Regions from separate parts of the Homo sapiens genome. Here regions 1, 2 and 4 are each linked to region 3. Evidence: promoter capture Hi-C in 16 types of primary human blood cells and fetal thymus (Javierre and others, 2016). All regions are on one chromosome and are shown on one strand. The core of a region is centred on a gene start or on the middle of the fragment in contact, and the rest is flanking DNA. Distances in the headings are between cores, read along the strand shown. Region 1 has its middle 160 kb from the start of LAMA2. Region 2 has its middle 130 kb from the start of LAMA2. Region 3 holds the start of KIAA0408. Region 4 overlaps LAMA2 (laminin subunit alpha 2).

What was found. The method cuts DNA at HindIII sites, captures the fragments that hold promoters and counts their contacts. A CHiCAGO score of 5 or more calls a contact.
Region 1: a fragment that was not itself captured here is called in contact with the fragment with the promoter of KIAA0408 in region 3 in 1 of 17 cell types (naive CD8 T cells); the score reaches 5.3 in naive CD8 T cells.
Region 2: a fragment that was not itself captured here is called in contact with the fragment with the promoter of KIAA0408 in region 3 in 1 of 17 cell types (naive CD8 T cells); the score reaches 5.4 in naive CD8 T cells.
Region 4: a fragment that was not itself captured here is called in contact with the fragment with the promoter of KIAA0408 in region 3 in 3 of 17 cell types (naive CD8 T cells, non-activated CD4 T cells and total CD4 T cells); the score reaches 10.5 in naive CD8 T cells.

The regions. Positions count from the first base shown.
Region 1 is chr6:128,718,281-128,721,479 of GRCh38, forward strand. No RefSeq gene overlaps it. Among named protein-coding and RNA genes, the nearest start is that of LAMA2, 160 kb to the right of the region's middle. The HindIII fragment of the contact is 708 bases long and covers 1,311-2,018 here.
Region 2 is chr6:128,749,309-128,752,744 of GRCh38, forward strand. No RefSeq gene overlaps it. Among named protein-coding and RNA genes, the nearest start is that of LAMA2, 130 kb to the right of the region's middle. The HindIII fragment of the contact is 1,010 bases long and covers 893-1,902 here.
Region 3 is chr6:127,457,674-127,461,092 of GRCh38, forward strand. It overlaps KIAA0408, which reads right to left and starts at 1,716. Exons shown (of 6, transcript NM_014702.5): 1 at 1,502-1,716. The region is part of intron 7 of SOGA3-KIAA0408 (SOGA3-KIAA0408 readthrough); the gene reads right to left. The HindIII fragment of the contact is 12,466 bases long and covers 1-3,419 here.
Region 4 is chr6:129,362,003-129,365,208 of GRCh38, forward strand. The region is part of intron 32 of LAMA2 (laminin subunit alpha 2); the gene reads left to right. Among named protein-coding and RNA genes, the nearest start is that of ARHGAP18, 350 kb to the right of the region's middle. The HindIII fragment of the contact is 226 bases long and covers 1,558-1,783 here.

The DNA of each region.
Region 1 (3,199 bases), core at 415-2,914, 1.3 Mb after region 3:
TTGTTACATAGTCTCTAAAAATAATCTAAAATAGATGATTTAGTCATGTGGAATAAGATTCAGAAGGTATCCCAGGCCATGTAGTTAAAGTCTCTTAACCTCAGCAACACGCCTGCCAGATTCCCTCCTTCTCTGAGAGATGTTCTCTATATAAACAAATATTATATATATTCTTCCCTTATTTCTCTTTCGCCCCTCTTTTTAATACAAATGATGGAGGGAGTATCGAAGCTGTCCCTAAAGAGGTCACAATTAAGCAGAAACCTGAAAGAAATGATTGAGCATATCAGGTAAGGATCTGGGGAAAGAAGATTCCAGGCAAAGTAAACAGTAATTGCCAAGTCCTTCAGATGGTAGCAAGCTTGTACTTCAGGGAGAATAAGCTGGACTGTGTTGTCTGCATGGAGGGTAAAGAGGAGATTGCGGCAGAGCAGGATGGGAAGGTAGGAGGGACCAAACCAAGGAGAGTAATCTAACCCATGGGAAGTTTGGAATTTATTCTAAAGTTGATGCAAATCTATTATAGAGTTTTGTGGAGAGCATGCTATGAAATATTCATATTCTAAAATGACCGTGTGGATGCTCTGTTGGGATTTTTCAATAGGCAAGTATAAATAAGCAGGGAAGATATTTAGTGATCTTGGAAAAAGATGAAAAATCTCCATACGAAAGCTGTAAAAACACTTTCCTAAACTGCCAGTGACATTGCAAATCGAAATTACAGATTACTTAGAAATTAATGACATTAAGGTTACTATATATTAAAACCTATAGAATATAAGCATAGTGGTACTTGGTGGGGGGACATTCATAACAGGAGGTGTATTTTTTTTTCAATGTTGAAGGTAAGTAACTAAAAAGAAACCAAACAAAAGTATAAGGATTAACAAAGTAAGGTTAAATAATTTGGTAGAAAGGATGAAACAAACTATAAACAGGAATTAAATATAAATACAATTAAAATTGGCAAATTTGAAGAAGAATAAGAGAAGATGCATGAATACCTGTTGTAGGTAACTCTTGTGAGGGTGGTTCAGCTCAAAATTCCACCTTTTCTGGGACTGCTTTCTATTGTATAGCAACTGATGCTTGGTAGCCCCATGTATGATATGTAGTCCTATCCAAGTAACTGTGATTCATAGAGGAAGGATTAGTGAACTCACCTCAAACTGGTGGTCCAGTTTGGGTGAGTTTTTCCTGGAAATTTGACATTTAAAATTGTTAAGAAAAAGAGAGTGTTTAAAGCACAGAGCAGTGGTCATCTGGGGATGTAACTCCAAATGTTACTTGCATTCATAGGTATTTTAGCAAGCTTGTCCAACCTGCAGCCCATGGGCCATCTGCAGCCCTGGATGGCTTTGAATGTGGTCCAACACAAATTTGTAAACTTTCTTAAAACATTATGAGATGATTTTGTGATTTTTTTTTTTAAAGCTCATCAGCTATCATTAGTGTATTTTTTGTGTGGCCCAAGACAATTCTTCCAATTTGGCCCAGGGAAGCCAAAAGATTGGACACCTCTGCCAGGGAGTTTCTATATTCACATTATTCATACGTTCTTTAGCCTAAAATCCATCTGTTTGAAAGGAGTTCAGTTTTTTAAAAATATGCTTTTCTCACTTTCATTTTCATAGTAACCTTTTTCTTCTTTACAAGAGAGAGGCATATGCCTCCATCAGTATTCTTGAGTATTACAATGGTGCATTGTATTAGTGTGTAAAACTTAACCAGAATGCCAAACAATGGACAAATAGAAATACCGATGTTGGTGCTGAGAAAGTGAATGCCTAATGATTGGGTAACAAATCCTCTTGCAAATCAGGGGATTTCTTTTTCACCGAATTAAATAAAATTTAAAGAGAACCTAATAGAATTTCTATTGATTAATCTTTAAAAATAATTTTTGAAGAAATATCGCTAAGTAATTTTTGTCATATACCCAATAATGAATTCAAAGAACTGAATACGATTGCTATATCAAAACTCCCTCTAGGACCTATTGTTACCTTATGTGAACAAGCTTTCTCAGCACTTGCATCTATGACAATGAAAATAGGGATTATATGGATGCTGAACTATATTTCAATTGACAATAATAACATTCATTGATGAATATGTGAATTAATAGAAAAAATAAGAGAAATCAGTAAAGCTTCAGTTCCATCTATTTCATTAAGAAAAACATTTTCAAGTAAAGTTTACATTTTCATGATTGAAAATCATCAACATTTGCAAATTTGTTGTTTAAGTCACCTGCATACAACTAATAATTATAGAAATAATTTAGTCCAGAAAAAAGTAATTCAATACTTAGAAACTTATAGTCAAAGGAAATTAAACTTTAAGTTTGTATAGTTTTCTTATAAAAATATGTTAAAAGATAATAGAAGATGCCCAAACATAAAAATATGTATTAGCTTAGTATAAAGTTTTATAGGGCAAGTGAAAGATAAATAAAAAGAAAAGAATGGTGTAAAATTTTTACTTAGAAGAGCCTTTTTAAAAATGGATTGTAGTGGGTGTCAAATTATTATGGTATTTAGATTCCCACTACATACAATTTAAAGTGACATGACAGTTTTATTTTTAACGTTACATATTTACAATAAGAAAAAAGGTATCTTTTGTAACTTCCTATATTTATAATGAAAATTTTGATTCTCAACCTAAAAATTCTTATGTAGATATATAAGAAAATGTCTGGGGACTTGTTCTAGAGAGAAGACCTATCCCTGAAACTTGTGCTGCAGAGGTCTTACAAAAGAACTTCTTCCTTTCACAAAGTAAAAGAGTTAGATTTGCAATTGAAAGAACCTAAAGAATTGCCAGCTTTTTGTTGGTATGAGTTAAGAACACAGGCTTTGAGTTCGAACTCTTATTAGGCCACTTGTTCTCTGTCTGATATCGGACAAGTAACATAATGATTTACCACTCAATTTCCTCATCTGAAAAATGGGAAAAAAATGTGGTACCTATCTCAAAAGGGTATTTTGAGAGTTAAATTAATACAGTGCCTGACATAGAGATCCGAAATAGAAGTATTGTTATTATGATAAAGAAATGGACTCTAAAAATATGAACAGCAGAGAAAACATTAGAATATTTTAAACAAGTGTTTGACAAAACTGAAAAACTGGATTGTTGAATTTGCCTTTTAGAAAATACGTATACTGATTTTGACTCATCTGAAGAAGAAAAC
Region 2 (3,436 bases), core at 148-2,647, 1.3 Mb after region 3:
CCCGATCACTAGGCCAGTGTGACACATGTAAGGCATTTTTCAAAGGATGTATCCCACTTCAAATTACCAATATCTACATTAGTTAAGATAATATCAGAAGCTATAAAATTTAGGCCGGTGTGGTGGCTCACGCCTTTAATTCCAGCACTTTGGGAGGCTGAGGTGGGTGGATCACCTGAGGTCAGGAGTTCGAGATCAGCTTGGCCAACATGACAAAACCTTGTCTCTAATAAAAATACAAAAATTAGCTGAGCATGGTGGCACGCCCCTGTAATCCCAGCTACTTGGGAGGCTGAGAATCAGCAGGAGAATCAACAGGAGAATCGGTTGAACCCAGGAGGTGGAGGTTGCAGCAAGCCAAGATCCCTCCACTGCCCTCCAGCCTGGGTGACAGACTGAGACTCTGCCAAAAAAAAAAAAAAAAAAAAAAAATAGAGAAGCTATAAAATTTAGAAAGAAACAAAGCAAAATATTGTTTCTTTTGGTGAGTTTATGTAAGTAGAGATTTTTTTTCTTTTTTGCTCAAGTAATAGTTTAATATAGGTGTTCTTGGTTGATAAGTAGCCTTGTATCCAGTGATTCAAGACCTTAAACTCTTTCCATTCTGTATCTTCAATATCCTTTAGAACCTTGAAGTCCTCTGAATTTATCTGGCAGGTCAGAAAAGAGTGAGAATAAACCAGAGCTGTTGTTTCTCAGCCTGAAGTGGCATACATCACTTTTATTCACAAAGGATTGGAATTGTAGACTTTGCATAGACAGCTGCTTCCCAATAGAAATGCTTACATTCCTGAGAGAAATCATGAATTTTTGTTGGCCAGTTAATCAATTCTGTCACTAAAGGTTTTTTGAATGAATAAAATAATCTGATGGTTTTAAAATTTATAAACAAAGCTTACCTCCTATCATAATAACCTTATAATGCATTGATAATTAAATCAACTTGAAAAGATATCTATGGTACGGGGAGGGAAATGTCCTGTATTTTGTGCTATTATATAAAATATTTCCGTTAAATTACTCATCTGGGAGTACATACCACTAAAATAAGAAGCATGAGTTGAAAAGTCAATGATACAGCCGCAATTATATAATATATTTTGAAAAAATAGATACATTTTACTTGAGAGAAATAGTTTGTATTTTAATCTGTCTACAGTGAATTTAAGTTAGTTAAAGACATTAGAAATTAAGGTATTAGTGAGAGTGTTTTATTTTACTAAGTTTCATAAATGATGATTGTTGTTTATGACAGTTGTTTGAAATGACCTCCCTTAACTGCTGTTTTTTCCCTTTGCATTTAGATATTTGCTCTTTTATATGTGGAACTTAAATCTATAAGGCACAAGGTTTATTCACTTAAGTTCCTGTTCAAAAGGAACTTTTTGGTATTTTAATTTTGCCTTCAACAGCAATGAGTCCTGAAGTCACACAAACTTTAAAGATTTAGGTTAGTCTTTTGAAACTCACTTCTCTTAAACATGGATGGGGTATGAAGCAAATAAAAATGTTCATATTTAAAGCAATTGTGCGGAACCGCTTAATTTCTCAAAATCACTTATCTCTCTACTTTAACAGTGGGAAAAACAAATGATAATTGTGGTCCTCAAATTTGTGACCTAAACCCATACCTCCAAGGGATAGAGATGGTTATTTTGACAATATAAATTCAAACTCACAGACTCTTGCATACGTTAGAAACACGCTATAGTATCAAGCAATTGATTGGAAAACAAATTTTGTGAAATGTGATAATATAACACAGGAAAATATGCCTGTAATAGTAAATCTAAATTAAATATATACCCTTGATAATTCATATTAACCATTTAATATAGATACTACTTTTGTGTTTTAATTTACAAGTAGCAACATTTAAAACAATTACATTCATCTATTTGAAGCTTAGCATCAGATGAGGTGGCCATTTAGAAACTGCTCAATCTGATAGACTAAGCTTATGCCTTTGATAGTTTTCTGAGCCCATTTAGATTTAATGAAAATATCTTACCAATTGTCTAATTTTTGAAATTTTTATTAAATAAGAGCTGAAAAATTGTGCCTATAAAGTGCAGGATTATTCACTCAAGTTGAGTTCCTATTCAAAAGGCACCTTCCAATATGACCCAATAAAAACATCACTAAAACATTTTAAATATCATATTAAATGCTAATTAGATCTAGTCAAATATATATTAAATTTTTGTTACAATTCATTTTGTCCTTGGTTATTATTGAATGAAGCAGTTGCATTTTTTAGCTTGGTAGCAAATGAATTATTTCCAACTTTACAATAATCATTAAAACTGCAAATAATCTGTTGATTTTCCTTTTGTTTGATACAGGTTTTTAATTTAGATTTAACAATGGAGATTTTCAATAGAGGAAGTAGATGAAGACCTACCTTTGAGATATTTATTTTGCCTTCAGGGCCAACACTAGAAAAATTAACATATACATCTTATTGCCAGAATCAAGAAAACTTTGGTCTTTGCAAAGATTTAAATTACTTGAGAGCAACAATTATGTGTTAGATAATTTTATAGTCTGCAGCTGTGCCAAAGGAAGTGCGGTGGGAAGCAAGGGACATAGAGGCAGAGGAAGGGCAAGGAGAATCCCATGCCATCAGAACCAGGGAAGTGAATAAGAAATTGCCTTGTGGTAGCCTCTCACAACATCATTCACCTCAGTGAACACAGACTATCTTTCTGTTTGTTAATTCTCAGAAAAATTTAGTAGTTTTCATTGTGTGGGACTGTCATATCTTATCTTGAATTTCTTCTCAAGTATTTTGTGTTTTTCAATGCTAACATAAGTGTTTTTTTAATTGTCTTTTCACAATTGTTTCTTGCTAATATAGAGAAATAGGATATATTTTTTATATTGACTTTGTAGACTGTGACTTTGCTAAATTTATTTATTCATTCTAGTATCTTGTTTTGTAGATTCCAGCAAAATTTTGAGTCGAAGTATTGAGAGTGAGCATCTTTGCTTTGTTTCACAGGTTAGGTGAAAGGCTTTGATATTTTACTTAAGTAACTATAGCTTTATTGCAGATGTCTTTCTCCAGATTGAAGAATTTCTATTGTATTCCTAGTTGCTGAAAATTAAAAACCTTTTTTTGAGATATTTTAGTTTTGATTTCTAGATTCTCATTTGTTTATATTTCTAAAAGGTATCTATTTTTCTTCTGAAGCTCCATTTATCTTCATTCATTATATCCATCTTTTTTGCAAATCCTTTAACATATTTATGATACTTATTTCAATGTAATACTTCCTAATTAAAAAATCTGGATGATCTGTGAGTTTGTCTCTATTGACTTTCATTCTTGAATATTTATCACATTTTCCTGTTTCTTAACATATCTCATAATTTCTATCTAACTCTAAACATAGTGTTTGTATCTCAGAGTGGGCAGGCCTAGTGGCTAGGG
Region 3 (3,419 bases), core at 466-2,965:
GGAGGCAAATAGTTCTGCTAGCCTTCCGGCCCTACCAGTAAGCAAAGTTTAAGAGTAACACACAAGTCTCACAAGAAATTATTTTCACCCCCAAATTAGCCTCAGTTTGGTCATGGCAGCAATTCTTTCTCTGAGGGGTGCTCCATTCTTAGGACACCTGGGTCACTACCCTTTCAACCTCCAACTCGCCCATTGAAAACTGGACTGCATCCAAACAAACTAAACAGCGTTCCTTAGGGGCAGCTGCTCCATTGCTACTTCTCTCTTTTTAGATTATTGTTTAGAGTACTTGTTTCTTGCTGTCCTTATTTCCTTTTGCTAAACATATCACTTTTCACATAATTAAAGATTTTTCATTTATAAGAGGTTACATATTCCAATAGAAATGCCACACACAGTAGGTACTGCTAATCTCACAATTCCTAGAAGACTCATTTGGCCTGAAGATGTTTTGCTTCTGCTTAACTTTGATGGATTAGGAATTCCCCAGCTTATAACCTATCAGAGTAATGTACCATTTACCTCCTAAATTCTCTATCCCTTTCTCCAGGCTATTATAATCACTTGAATTATTTCAATGAATTAATAAATCTCATTCCTCTCTATTGTTCACTTGCAATTGAATCTTTCCAAAGACCACCATGATTTGATTTTGTTAGAGTAAAAGGGAAATTTTTTTCATTGCTGTGTATTGCTGATTTAGCACATTCCTCATGCTCCAACAAGGTCAAAGAGACACTACCACATGCAATTCCGAATGAATCAACTTTACCGTTTCATTTAATTATCTTCTTCCTTGTTTTCTTTACAGTTATTTACTCAAATTAGAAAACATCCAAGCTGTATGCACACTGATTTTACTTATAAAATGCAAACTTTAAAAGCAAACATTTGGTTTGAGTAAACAAATGTCTAAAACTAACCATCGTGAACAAAAGACATAGTGGTAAGTTTCCCTCCTAAACGTAGATTATTCAATTATGAATGGCATAGACTTCAGCTCAAATTACAGAAACACTAACTCTACAGTGAGTCCACCACCACCTTAGATAAAACTAAAATTTATTTTTCACCGCAATTTTCAAATACCAAGTCTCCAGGATTGTGACCTTTAATTTGCAAATGTTAAAAGTCTTTATATGAATAAAAAAAATCACATTTGAATAAATATACTTAGTGAAAATCAATGATGGGCAAAGTGCTTTTCAAACAACTGAGAAGCAGTGTTGGAAAAACAGTCTCAAAGAGCGGATGGTACTGTCAGTCCACAGTTGGGAAATCCACCCTGAGCAGCTGAACAGCCTTTTTCCTAGGAGTCAGTACAATCTGTTATGCACCCCGCCCACTGTTTTTAAGCCCAGACACAGACAACAGCAGAGACAGATGTTGAAATTACACTCCACTTAAACAGTATCCATAGTTTAAAACATCTCAACAGCAGCCCCTTTGTATCCTGCCATAATTAGTCACTTGCTTGTAAACTTGCCGGAAAGAAACATACCTTTCACACTGGGGAGAAATCCTATGGATGCTCGACCACTGGTCAATTAGCAGTGGAAGAAAGTGGATGGCTAGCTGTCTTAAAGAGAAAAGTCTCAGCTCGGTGAATCTCGATTCTTTACAAGAAAAGGGGATGCAAAATAAGTCCAACCATTCCACAGAGCAGTACTGACAAGTCCCTTTGAAACCTTCACCACTTTTACAAGTCAAAAAGCTGCTCAGCTTAGTGTCACAGCAGCAGCTGAGACTACTGTGACGTCAGTTACTTGGAGGCGGCCTTCAAGCCACCTCTTCCAACCAGAGCTCTGTAACTTTAGAGCAGCTCATGCTCTGGGTAAACAACTCCAGGTCCAGGACATTTTTAGCTTTTATAATGGAGCCCAGTATTTTCAAACTTGCCAAAAGAGCTGGTTGTTAACATCATACAATGACAATGGCCAATTTTAGATTTATTTTATTAGGAAAGTAAACTCATTTTTTTATAGGCAAGAATTATCTCCCTCCTTCCATAATTCTTTCTCCTTCTCAGCTGGTGGCAGGATGTACTCTGCTGCACCTTTAGAAGTTTGCATCTGGATGTGGCAGAACAATATGTGTAGCATAATTATATATATTATGCACTCTCAAAAGATCTGTGAAAGTTATCAAACTTCTATCTTCAAATAAAATAGAAATGGAACATAAAGTCCAACCTCTTAGCTCTCTGTGATTCTGACAGTGTGTTGCTTTTATCTACAGTAGTAGCGATGTCTTTACGTTAGAGAAAATCAGAGCCCATGGGAAAGGATGAGATTTCTTATTGTGGGAGGACAAAACACACACACACACACACCCCAAAAATGAGATACCTATGGGCTTATTTTCCACTAAAGTGTGCTGCAGCCATAGGAAGAGAAAGCAGCCTAAGTGTATGGAAAAGCTCTCTAAATCATGATCAAATCAGCCTGTTCTGAAATGCTAGGAGATCTTGCCTCCCCAGCGACATTTTCAGGTTTATTGTGGCTTTGTACACACATGCATCTGATGATATTTGGTTTAATTTAGTCAAAAAAGTCTCTAGAGCAATTTTTTGCCTAACTTAGCAAATACACAAGTTTAAACAATAAGGTCTTATCTTCAAGTCTGAAGAGCTTCCCTGGTGTGGTCTTTAAAGTAATACATATTCACTCACATTATTTTCACCTGCTTCCAGATAAACATTTCATGAGGAGCTAAAGTTTAGTAATAGTAACCTGCTCACAGTAGGACTTTAATACATGTAGGACAATCAAATGAAACCATACTCTGTGTCTGGAAAGCCTGACATCATAATCTCAACAGCAATAACAACAATAACAGTGATAGTTATAGTAATAATAGTGATTATTCACTGAGGGGCAACCCTCTGCAAGGTTCTGTGCTAAGTACTTTGAACAGACCTTTATCTGAGTTCACCCTCAGAGCAATTCTGTCTCTAGATACTGATAATCTGATCTTACTGATAAAACCCAAGCAAGGCTCATTGTGGTAAAGCATCATGCAAAAGTTCATAGAAATGCACCCATGTGGAGGAAACGGGTTTGAACTGTTTTGTCTGATTGCAAACCATGGAATTTTGTCATAGAGATCTAAGTTTCAATTCTGCTGCCACCACTTATCTGTGTGATCTTGCAGACCCTGATTCTTCCTTAAAGACATAATTATATTTACTTTAAGAGGCCATAAGAATATGAGGGAATATATATAGCGCCAAGCACACAATAAAGGGTAGCTCATGTCTGCCTCCATGCTTATGAGGCTAGGAAGAAGATTCTTTGAGAGAGGGAAAGGGAGGAGGGAGTTGCACAAAAACATCAATACAGAATTGTCTTAACATTGTTTCTGGCCGGGTGTGGTTGCTCACACCTGTAATCCCAGCACTTCTGGAGGCGGAGGCAGGT
Region 4 (3,206 bases), core at 421-2,920, 1.9 Mb after region 3:
CAAACTTCTCACCTCAAGTGATCTGCCCATCTCAAGCCTCCCATACTGCTTGGATTACAGGCCTGAGCCACCACACCCAGCCAGTAGTAACCATTTTTAATTGTCCCCAGAAATGATCATCGCTTTGATCTGTCAGTCATGGTGTTCTTTCCTCCTAAAGTTTTGTGCTGATTTTCTTCCCGTCCATCTCTCCCTTTCCTGAGTCAAAACTGAAATCCTTCAGGCAGGTATCTGAATAGTCATTCTTGTTGATCGGACAGTCTCTGCCTCTGCAATCACAAGATAGTTCTCTTTCTGTCTCTAAACCATTGTTTTTAATGTATTCTCCTGTTCCTCACACATCTGTGAGGTTTTCTATCTTGTTCTCACATTCAGAAGTTTTCTTCCGGCCAACCCCAACCTCTTCCCTCTTCCCCTCTTCCCCTCTCTCTTCTCTCCTAACATTCTACCTCCCTGATCTTCTCACTATTTCATGTACTTGGGCACATGCCATGCTCAAACATTAACCCTTGCCATTCTCTTTGTCCAAAGTGTTTTGATACCCTTCTCTCACAAAAATATTAGCCCACAAATATTTACTGAATATTAACTGTGTACAAGACCCTTTCCTAGGCACCATAACCAAGGTGTTTAAGGTCCCTTCTTTAACGAGGAAGAAAGAATATATAAATAAATTAAGTAATAATGTAGCCCAAACAGGCATAAGTGTTAAGAAAGCAAAGGAAATGCAGTAGTGACTGGCGCAGGGTATAGGGCTGGGGGTGGTGGGGAGTTTCAGGTAACAGTAATTTTAGAATCATCAGGGACTTGCTCTCTGAAAAAGTGACACTTGAGCACTTGACCTGAACACCTAGGAACCAGGTGGGAGAAGACCAAGGGAGAAGAATTCTAGGTAGAGAAGACAGCAAGCAAAAGGACCTCTTCCAAATCCTTGCTCCCTTGAAGATTGAGCATCCCTATAATTTATCACCTGGTCCAGTGGTTTTATCCTTTGGCTACATGGTTTTTCAATTACTGGAATATTTTTAAAATACAGTGGTTCACGCCTATGATCCCAGCACTTGGGGAAGCTGAGGTGGGAGGATCACTTGAGGCCAGGAGTCTGACATCAGCCAGGGCAACACAGCAAGACCCCATCTCTATGTTAAAAAACTAGCTGGATGTGGTGGCATGTGCCTGTAGTCTCAACCACTCGGGAGGCTGAGGCAGGAGGATCACTTTAGCCCAGGAGTTTGAGGCCGCAGTGAGTCATGATCACACCACTGTACTCCAGCATGGGTGGCAGAGCAAGACCCTGTCTCAGAAAAAAATAAAAATAGAAATACTGATGGTTAGACCTTACCACAGACCCATCAAAAATCATATTCTGTGGTGGTGAGGAGGGAAAGAGCCCAGGCATCTGTATTTTATAAATGTTCATGTGATTCCAATGGGCAGCCAAAGGTGAGAACCACTGATCCACACCAATGTTGTCACATTCTAATGTGCAGAGATAATGTGGGACGCAGATTCTGATTTCCTAGATCTGGGGTAGAGCCCGATTATACATTTCTAATAAGCTTCCAGGTGGTGCCAAAACTGTTGGTCTGATTGCTACTCAAAGTGTGGTGCACAGACCAACAGTAGCAATATCACCTGGGAGCTTGTTAGAAAAGCACATTCTCAGTCAGAGACTAAGAGAAACCAGGTGATCAAATCACCTCCTGATTCAGAAATACTAGGGGGTGTGGACCAGCCCTCTAGGATTTCCGAAAGTCCTACTGGTGGTTCTGAGGCCCACTAAAGCTTGAGAACCAGACTGTGGATCTTGGTGTTTAGACACAGTCAATTTGGCACTTAACTGAGTTCTATGTTGTGTTTTCTCTAATTGTTTAATGTGGACAAGTCTGTTGAAGTTTGCATTGAACGGGGCTATGAAGCCAAAATAATCTTTTACTTGGTTTCCATGCAGTGCAAATTTGGTTTCATTCTGGCTAGGAGAAGAGTAAGAGATATAGCCCTAGTTCCAGACTTCTGCTCTGGCCTCCAAAGCCTCTTTGTTCATTCAGCTTGTGAAGCATCAGGAGCTTGCAAAGCCCCTGCAGGTGACGCTCTACAGTTGTCACCTGCAAGAAGCTGCAGGTGTCACCTGCAAGAAGCTGATTTATTAAAAGCCCTGCCAGGGCAGTTTAATCCCTGTGAAGTGATATTGTAACTCACCTCTAGCTGCTGTCCTATCAAAAAATCACTCTCCGTCCTCCTTCTCTTTGTTTACAAGCACCAGTTAATGGTTTTCTCTCCATTAAGCAGCTCAGGGGACTGCTGTTTAGAGACCTAATTGAATTCTTGCCAAGTTTGGGCATGATCCAGAGCTGCTCCAATTCTCGGTATTTTCCATGCTATGTATTTTCCCCTATTCTAACATGTATATAGCATTGATACCTCTATCTGCAGAATGTAAGAAATTGTAACTGTATACATGAGAGTATATTATAAATGCAGTAGTTCCTGCTCCTTGGCGTGCAGATACACCTCATTACTCTGCAATGCAAAACTAAAAATATACATGTTTTTTAAATCTGCTAAAAGATTCAATATATGTTAATTTTGGAAATTATACGACTATTTATGAGATCTATTCCATAATGAAGAGTCAACAATCCATTTGTCTCTCTACCAATTCTACCACCTATCCTGGCCCCTACCACCAAATTTGAATAGCACCTCTTTGATGGCCAAAAATATTATGGTGAGTGTATTAGTCCATTTTCGTATTGCTATAAAGAAATGCCTGAAGCTCGGCAATTTGTAAAGAAAAGAGGTATAATTGGCTCATGGTTCCATCAGGCTGTACAGGAAGCATGGCTGGGGTGGCCTCAGGGAACTTTCACTCATGGCAGAAGGCAAAGCTGGAGCAGGCATCTTCACACAGGCAGAGCAGGAGGAAGTGGGGGCTGGAGGTGGCACACACTTTTAAATAACCAGGTCTTATGAGAACTCTGTCATGAGAACATCACTAGGGCGGTGGTGCTAAGCCATTAAAACCACTCCAGTGATTCAATACCTCCCACGAGGCCCCATATCCAGTATTGGGGATGACATTTCAATATGAGATTTGGATGGGGACACAGATCCAAACCATATCTGGTAGAATATTAGCATTCTTGGCTACTTAAAGAATATAGTTTTTCTAGCCTTTAGCAATTATTTATCTATAAGACTGAAAG